Linked DNA regions of Homo sapiens: region 2 is linked to region 1. The links are contacts of gene promoters, found by promoter capture Hi-C in blood cells and fetal thymus (Javierre and others, 2016). All regions are on one chromosome and are shown on one strand. Each heading gives the region's core, a stretch centred on a gene start or on the middle of the fragment in contact. The rest is flanking DNA. Distances are from core to core; before and after follow the strand shown. Region 1 holds the start of TAOK3 (TAO kinase 3). Region 2 overlaps GLT1D1 (glycosyltransferase 1 domain containing 1).

Region 1 (4,391 bases), core at 1,147-3,646:
CTCTATTTGTAAGTGATTTTTTCTCCCAACAAAACTAAAGAATTTCCAGAATGGAATGCTAAGATGTCTTTCCAGGAGTTCTGAGATCTTCTGAAGCCCCTTCTAAATAAGAATCATTCTCAGATCGCACCGTAGGTCTGCCATCTATATTTAAACTAGGATTCCAGAACTGTCTCTTGTCCAAAAGATGAAGTCATTTTCTTTCTTTGTGCTGTTGGAGAACATCTAAATTACTTGCAATCAACTATATTGAGTAACTTGCGTTCCTGTCAGTAGCAGTAATCATAGTGCAGAAAAAGCAAAGATTTTAGAAATCAAGAGTTCATTGATACAATTAATTTTTAAGTTTATTTCGTTGCTAAATGGTTTCCTTTCAAGACGCTGAGATTTTTATCCTGCTTATGTTTTACTGCTGTCTTCTTGACTGCAAACAGCATCTGTTAATGGTCATGCATTTCTTTTTTATATGTAATGAATAGACACAACTGAGCACTTGGGTTATGAAAACTTACCCCATTTTTTTCTGTCCAGATTGCCAGCTGCAGAACTAAAAAATGCTCTTTAGTGAAGGTGGACCTACTCAAAAAAATTCTCTTATGGCTTTAGTCTTACCTAACCTTTAGATTTATTTAATATGATTTTGGACAGTCGCTATACTCCTGTAAAAATCAAGTTCCCTCAAAACCAAGTTTTACCACCTTGAAATCTTTTTATATATCCCTTCTCAAAACGGTACTCAGCCACACCGCTCAGGAACTCGACTTGACTTGAAACGAAGCCCTGCCAGCCCCATTTCCACAACTTCTTTGCTTCCAGGCCTTCTCTGCCTACCCTAACACCCAAACTGAAACTTTAAAGGGGGACATCACAATTGGAATGGAGTATGATTCTTTTTTTTCTTTTTCTTTTTTTCTTTTTTTGAGACGGAGTTTTGCTCTTTCACCCAGGCTGGAGTGAAGTGATGCGATCTCGACTCACTGCAACCTCCGCCTCCGGGTTCAAGTGATTCTCCTGCCTCAGCCTTTCTAGTAGCTGGGATTACAGGTGGGTGCCACCATGCCCGGCTAATTTTTGTATTTTTCGTACAGACGGGATTTCACCATGTTGGCCAGGCAGGTCTGGAACCCTTGACCTCAGGTGATGAATGGCGTATGATTCTTAAAACACTAGAAGAAACATGTATACTGTTTAGAACACAAACACATTTTGTCAGCTGGAGTTAAAAAGTTAACAATCGAGGGTTCTCTGAGAACTAAGGCCTGTATACATCTGACAAAACTTAGGATCAAAATGTGTTCCTGAGACAATTTCTTCATAAAATGCTAAATTCTAAAGTCCATAAACTTACTTTTGGCGTTAAGAGTAAGGAAAGCAGTTTTCTGTTTCCGGTGTTGATTTGATCAGCATATCCAGTTTCACAAAAATAACACAAATGGGTCTTAGTAGCATGATGCACTTTCACCCCTGGCAGGCACTATCCTTTAGCGTGGATCAAGAGGAGTCTCTGATTATCACATGTTAAACCTGGGTCAAAGCTCGTTATCCTTTGGCCACACGTTCACATAGAATCATTAAAACCTGTGGCCCTGGAAAAAGGTTATATTGAATAGCTTTGCTGAAACCTTGTTAAGCTAATAATAGGGTTCCCCTACCACAGTCTTCCTACTGTCATAAAAACCTACAAACTGAAAATTTCTAAAGCTTTGTCCTTGCACCTATCAAAATGTGCCCCGCATTGAACGCTTAGTTGGGCAAAGTATGCACCTAGTACTGTATATAGATTTTTTTTCCCCCAACGGTATCAAACTGACGGCTGCTGAACTCAATTCAAGGAGAGGCAACTCCCTTGCAAGAGATTTTAAAAAGAAATGGTTTAAATCCAGGAAATTTTTACAAATCCTGGGCAAATTAATGCTATATTAGTTCATGGCAGAATTACTAAGAAAGCTGTGCAAGGTCTAGCGAGAGACTGGGGTCCTCCCCAAAGGCTCTAACATGGTGGTCCCTGGGAATCTCCCAAGAAAAGTAAAGGCGTGGGGAGAAGCGCCATGAACTTTGACCGGAGAGCAGCACAAACAAGACTGACCGCACCCCAGGCGGGCCCGTAGGTTACTAAAGTTGCAAGGTCTTCCGCGTCTGAGGAGACCCCGCCCTGCCCTGTCCCGCCCATCGACAACTCCGCCAATCCTCGGGTTCCATCGACCGCTCGGCTTCCCAGGCTCCATCAATCAAATACCTATATACGGCCCCGGCCCTGTGCCCCGCGATCAGGGAAGGTCAGTAGAGAGCCTATTGGAGCCGAGCTTGGGGCGTGGTCCGGGGCAGGGGGCGGGCGGACTGAGACGGTGGGGCGGGGCGTGCTCGGCGCAGTCCGGTGCGATTGGCCACCCCTGGCAGGAGCCGCACCTCGGACAGCAGCAGCGGCGGCGGCCGCGGGAGGGTCCTTGTGGCGCCGGGCGGCGGGGTCCTGCGTGGAGAGTGGGACGCAACGCCGAGACCGCGAGCAGAGGCTGCGCACAGCCGGATCCGGCACTCAGCGACCGGACCCAAGGATCCGCCGGGGAACAAGCCACAGGAGAGCGACTCAGGAACAAGTGTGGGAGAGGAAGCGGCGGCGGCGGCGCCGGGCCCGGGGGTGGTGACAGCAGGTCTGAGGTGAGAGCACCGGGGCGCGGGGCATGACAGTGGGAGCCGAGGCGGCGGGACCCCAGGCAGAGTGAGGGGAGTTGCGGGAGCGGGCTCGACAGTGCAGACTGTGGAGAGGAGACCCCGGGAGGGACCGGGACAGCGGGTGAGGAGAGGGGACTCCGAGAGGGACCGAGGCAGTGGCTCTGAGTGGAGAGGACTCCGAGAGGGTCCAAGACTGAAAGTCTGAGGGGAGGGGTCTCCAAGAGGGGCCGGGACAGTGCGCGTGAGAGGAAGGGACCCGGAGAGGGGCTGGGGTAGTGGGGTGAGGGGTGGGTGCCTCATGAGGCACTAGGATAGGGGGATGAGGGGAGGGGGTCCCCTGAAGGACCAGGTCCCAGAAAAGGTCAGGGACAGCGGGGAGAGGGGAAGGGTCCCCGAGAGGGGCCGGCACTGAGAGTCTGAGAGATGGGGACCCCGAGAGGGGCTGGGACAGCACCCGGGGAGAGGAGACCCCGAGGTGAGGGGAGGGGACCCAGAGAGAATCCAGGACAGAGTAAAGAGAGGGGACCGGTCAGGGGATGTGAAGACAGGGGATCCCCAGAGGGCTTAGAACAGAGTGTGAGAAGACCCCAGGAAGGGCCAAGACAGTGGGAGAAGAGGAGGGGTCCCGGAAGGGGGCTGGGCTGAGACAGCGGGGCTGAGAGCAGGACACCTAGAGAGAGGCCGGGACAGCGGGTGGGAGCAGGGTGACCCCGAGAGGGGCCAGGACAGCGGGGTGAGAGGAGGGGACCCCCAGAGGGCTCGGGACAGCGCATGCGAGCGTGGGACTCCGAGAGGGGCTTTGAGCGTCGGGTGCAGGCGCGGACCCCGAGGGAGGAGCGGTGCCCCATGGGTGCGGGTCGGGCCCCCAGTCACATAGCGGGGGCCCGGCGTGAGCAGCGAGGGAGCGGGCGGGGGGTCGCGCCCGCTGAGTTGCGGGAGCCCCCCCAAGAACGGCTGCGGCGGGGAGCCTGGGTCGCAGTCGCGGCGTCGGGCAAATAGGAACCGGCTGCAGCGCAGACGAGTGGAGCGGGGAGGTGCTCCCAGGGTCTGGCATCAGCGACCTCCCTGAGGGTGGAGTGTGAGCCCCCGGGACTCCGGGGGACTCCGGAGCCGGATTATGTCATGAAACATCTCTGAAGTGAAACGCATGGGCTGGAGGAGCTGGAGGGGCTGGTGGGGCTGGCTGCAGGACAAAGATCTTGGAATGATCAAGAGACCTGCGCGGCCTGACCTCTTCTCACTGGCCCGCTGGCTTCGCATTCGTTCCTTAGAGTCTGATGTGGATGTCTTGAAAGCGAGGGGCTTCCTGATCTTAATGAAAAGGTCAGGTGAAAAGTTGGAAGGGGCTTCTTCAAACCTCCCCCACTTCCCCCTCCACAAGAAGTTGAAAGGGACAGGGATCCTTTTGGAGACCCGTGTTTTAGATTAATAAGAATATTTCTTTGATAGACCCTTGCGTTTTCCTGGACTACTGGTTTTTCATTTTAGCTCAAGGAGCTAAGAAACTTTTTTAGATTTGGCAGCATATCAGTATCAATGTTTACAATGCAGATTTAAAGGAACTATACTAGGTTTGGAATCTGGACTGTTTAACTTTGATCTGTTGGAGATAGTTGGAAGGTCAAACTAAATTTTCAAAAGAGGTTTTGGAGTCGCAAAACTAAGAGCTCTTTCCAATTAGATTTCTTATCCTAAAAGCTGCCAGGATTGAGCTTTAGGCG
Region 2 (4,391 bases), core at 1,358-3,857, about 10 Mb before region 1:
AGACAGCAGAAGCTTTAGATTTTCCTGTCTTTTTTTCCCAGTATTTTCCCTCTATCATGAAGGAAATCACAGGTTTTTCTCTCCTTCATTCCCCACACTCAACTGCCAAGTCCTGTTCATTTTACTTCTTAAATATGCCAAACCCAAATACATACATGATTTTCAACTACACACAAATCTCATGGCCTTTCATGGTGCAATCCTGTTTTTGGCACAAAACTGAAGGTGTCGCGTGGCCCTGTCTCCCTCTCCAGCCACATCTCCTGACCCCACCTAGAGAAGGGTTCATCAGCAAAGCCCTGTTCACATGTGGAGCAGGGTCACTCTTGGGGAGGGGCTGCCCTGTGCACTACAGGGTGTGGAGTGGCGTCCCACTCAATGCCAGTAGCCCCCAACACTAGTGGTGACAGCGAAGTATGTCTCCAGACCTTGCCCAACGGCCCTGGGGGCAAAATGGCTCCCCCTCCTCGGCACATCCTCTGTGCCCCATGCTCTTCCGGAGGCAGAGTCGCTGATCTACAGGATTCTGTGCTGTGAAGGCTGCGTGACTCTCAGCTCTGGAAGAGATGGTCTCTTCCCATCCCATTGGTTGACGCTCTGCCTAAGACGCCTCCCCCTCCGTTCTCCCACCTTGCTAACTAAGGCCCATTATGCTGATTAATAGCTCACAACTGTTGTTGATGAAAAGAGTCAAACTCTGTAAAATATTAAGAGATTTATTCTGAGCCAAATATGAGTGACCATGGCCTGTGACACAGCCCTCAGGAGGTCCTGAGAACATGTGCCCAAGGAGGTCGAGGTACAGCTTGGTTTTACACATTTTAGGGAGGCATGAGACATCAATCAAATACATTTAAGAAATACATTGGTTTGGTTCAGAAAGGCAGGACAACTCAAAGCATGGGGGTTGCGGGGAGGAAGGGCAGTTCCAAGCTATAGGTCAATTTAAACATTTTCTGGCTGACAATTGGTTGAGGCTTGTCTTAAGACCTGGGATCCATAGAAAGGAAATGTTCAAGTTAAGATAAAAGACTGTGGAGACCAACGTTCCTTTGAAGTCTTACGGTGGCTGCCCTTAGAAACAATAAATGACAAATTTTTCCTCTTCAGATCTTTAAAAGGTGCTAGACTTTTAGTTAATCTCTTCAGGATTGGGAGGGCATGGAAGAAAAAGATCTAGCTATGTTAATGGAGATTTTTTTTTTTTTTTTGAGACTGAGTCCCCCTCTGTTGCCCAGGCTGGAGTGCAATGGTGTGATCTCAGCTCACTGCAACCTCTGCTTCTGGGTTCAAGCAATTCTCCTTCCTCAGCCACCCAAGTAGCTGGGATTACAGGTGTGTGCCACCACGCCCAGCTAATTTTGGTATTTTTAGTAGAGACGGGGTTTCACCATGTTGGCCAGGATGGTCTCCAATGCCTGACCTCAAGTGATCCACCTGCCTTGGCCTCCCAAAGTGTTGTGATTACAGACGTGAGCCACCAGGCCCGGCAGAAATTCTTTACAGATGCAGATTTTCCTCCCACAAAGGATGGCTCTGCAGGGCCATTTCAAGATATGGCACAGAAGCATGTTTTGGGGTTAAATATTTTGATTTTTTTTCTTGTCTCATAATGTTATGCCAGAGTCAGACTGGAAGGTAAGTCACGATATACAGTGTCAAATAAAACCCATCTGATGGGATTTTATGGTTTGTAGGGCATGACTCCCAGACCCCTTAGACAGGAATTTGGGCAAGATAAAAAAATCAGAGCTTAGTCCTCACTATGTTCCAGACACTGCTTTAAAAACGCTGAAAGTGTATTAACTCTTTTAATTCCATTCACAACCCATATTGGCATCCTCATTATGAAAAAGAACACTGAGCCACAAAGCAAACTTGGTCTGGACCTTGCCATTTTTCAACAGGGAATGGGCTTGGAAGGCACGAGAAGGCTTTCCCTGACCTCTGATCTGGGATCGGTCCCCACCTATATGTCCCCAGAGGATTCTGTGCTTCCCAGGCCAATACATTCATGAGGATTTAGCACCCTTACTTATAGATGGGGTGTTGCTTTACAATGACCAACTTGTGCAAGAATAGAACCCCTTCTTTTTTTCTTTAAATTCAGTCTTACCTAATTCTGACCTCCTATTCTGCCAGGCTGATGGGAACTCCAGATTTACGTATTTGGGGAACTCCTTCACCAAGTGTCCAGGGTCAGTTGAAGGTGGTCTCCGGGGTCTTTGGCAGAGATTTTGGAGGAGAACATCCAGTCCTCACTGCTCATTGCTGATTAGATCACAGGGACTCTCAGTCACCAAGGGAACCTCCCTCCCCGCCCGTCCAGGACACCAGCATCATTTCCTCAAGGAGACTAAGCTTTCACAAGGCAGAAGATGTCTTCAAGCAACTTCTGCTTTTTTCTTTTTCTTCCCCCAGCAATCCTTCCTGAGGTGAAGGACAACAAACGCCTGGTCTGAATAAACATCAAAGCCTGAATAGCAGCCTTTATTCTGCTTCTGCACAGCCAGGAAAAGAAAGAACGAAGTGACTAAATGGCCCTCCACTCCAGTTTAGCTGAAGTCAACCTTCTGCATAAACCCTGCCCGCCTCCTTCCCCTTTGTAGCCCCAAGGCCTAGCAAGACAGGCACTTTCAAAAGTGCACCACCAACAGAATGATGGGGGAGTGAATCTCAGGACGGCAGCTAACATAGTTATTTTTTCTATTAATTCACCTCTGAGTTGGGACAAAAGTAACGTGACCTTGTGGGTGGATGTGAGTTTGGGCCCTTGGAAGATGTGGGTTTACAGCTCAAGTTAGGAGCAAAATATTAAATAACAGGTAATATTTCCTTTTTGCCTGAAGCTTCTAACTCTGTGCCCGTTCAGGTTCTTCGGTCACTCAACATTGTTTTTGATTTTCTTTTCTGTTTTTGAAACGGAGTCTTCTCTGTCTCCCAGGCTGTTGTGCAGTGGCGCCATCTTGGCTCATGCAACCTCCGCCTTGCAGGTCAAGCGATTCTTGAGCCTCTGCCTCCCGAGAAGCTGGGATTACAGGTCTGTGCCACCACAGCTGGCTAATTTTTTTATTTTTAGCAGAGATGGGGTTTCACCATCTTTTTTTGTTTTCTTGTTTTTTTTAGTGGTAATTACTTCTTAAGCACAAAGTGTTTTCCCCACCACATGTACAAGCCAGATTTGGCCTCTCTCTCTGACTCATTTCCTAGCACTGGCCCCAAACTCTCTATAGTCCAGTGACCCTGGCTGCCTTTCTGCTTCTCACACAGCTCAGGACCTGTGTTCTCACCATTATTCCTTCCTGGGACCATCCCTCCAGATCTCAGTGACAGCCTCTTTTCGGTCTTAGCTTCAATGTCATCTCCGGAGACAGCCTCCCAGACCACATTCTCTAAAGCATCTCAGCCATCATCATGCCTCTCAATCACTTTATCTAGTTTTGTCAGAGGCGTCTGAACCAGAGTAACTCAGTCTTGAATAAGGGCTGGGTAAAATGAGGTTAAGACCTACTGGGCTGCAATCACAGATGGTTAAGGCATTCTAAGTCACAGAATGAGATAGGAGGTCGGCACAAGATACAAGGTGATAAAGACCTTGCTGATAAAACAGGATGCAGTAAAGAAGCCAGCCAAGACCGACCAAAACCAAGATGGCAACGAGAGCGACCTCTGGCTGTCCTCACTGCTACACTCCCATCGGCACCATGACAGTTTGCAAATGCATGGAAATGCCAGGAAGTTACCCTATATGTTCTGGAAAGGGGAGGTGTGAATAATCCACTCCTTGTTTAGCATATCATCAAGAAATAACCATAAAAATGGACAACCAAGGCCAGGCGAAGTTGCTCATGCCTGTAATCCTAGCACTTTGGGAGGCCAAGACCAAAGGATCACGTGAGGTCAGGAGTTCGAGACCAGCCTGGCCAACATGGTGAAACCCTGTCTCTACTAAAAATACAAAAATCAGCTGGGTGTGGTGGCAGGCGCCTGTAATCCCAGCTACTCCGGAAGGTAAGGCAGGAGAATCGCTGGAACCGGGGGGCAGAGGTTGCAGTGAGCTGAGACCCCGCCATTGCACTCCAGCCTGGGCGAAAGAATGAAGCTTTGTCTCAAAAAAAAAAAAAAAAAAAAAAAAGGCAACCAGCAGCCCTTGGGGCTGCTCTGTCTATGGAGTAGCCAGTCTTTTATTTTTTTACTTTCTTAATAAACTTGCTTTCACTTTAAGGACTCGCCCTGAATTCTTGCTTGTGCAAGATCCAAGAACCCTCTATCGGGTTCTGGATCAGGACCTCTTTCCGTTAACAGTTTTGTTTTATTTTTTAGAGTTTTGATCTGCCACCCAGGCTGGAGTTCAGTGGTGCAATGTCACTTCGCTGCAGCCTCAACCTCCT

Evidence for each region. Contacts are between HindIII fragments. The CHiCAGO score rates a contact against its expected background, and 5 or more counts as called.
Region 2: a contact is called between a fragment that was not itself captured here and the fragment with the promoter of TAOK3 in region 1, in 1 of 17 cell types (M0 macrophages). The highest score is 6.5, in M0 macrophages.

What each region holds. Positions count from the first base shown.
Region 1 is chr12:118,370,912-118,375,302 of GRCh38, reverse strand. TAOK3 (TAO kinase 3) reads left to right here and starts at 2,396. Exons shown (of 21, transcript NM_016281.4): 1 at 2,396-2,655. LOC124903031 (a long non-coding RNA gene) reads left to right here. Exons shown (of 2, transcript XR_007063480.1): 2 at 1-5. RefSeq lists an enhancer at 1,903-1,952 and silencers at 2,273-2,522, 3,307-3,366, 3,467-3,556. The HindIII fragment of the contact is 12,374 bases long and covers 1,704-4,391 here.
Region 2 is chr12:128,855,491-128,859,881 of GRCh38, reverse strand. All of the region lies in intron 1 of GLT1D1 (glycosyltransferase 1 domain containing 1), which reads right to left. Among named protein-coding and RNA genes, the nearest start is that of GLT1D1, 4.2 kb to the right of the region's middle. The HindIII fragment of the contact is 488 bases long and covers 2,364-2,851 here.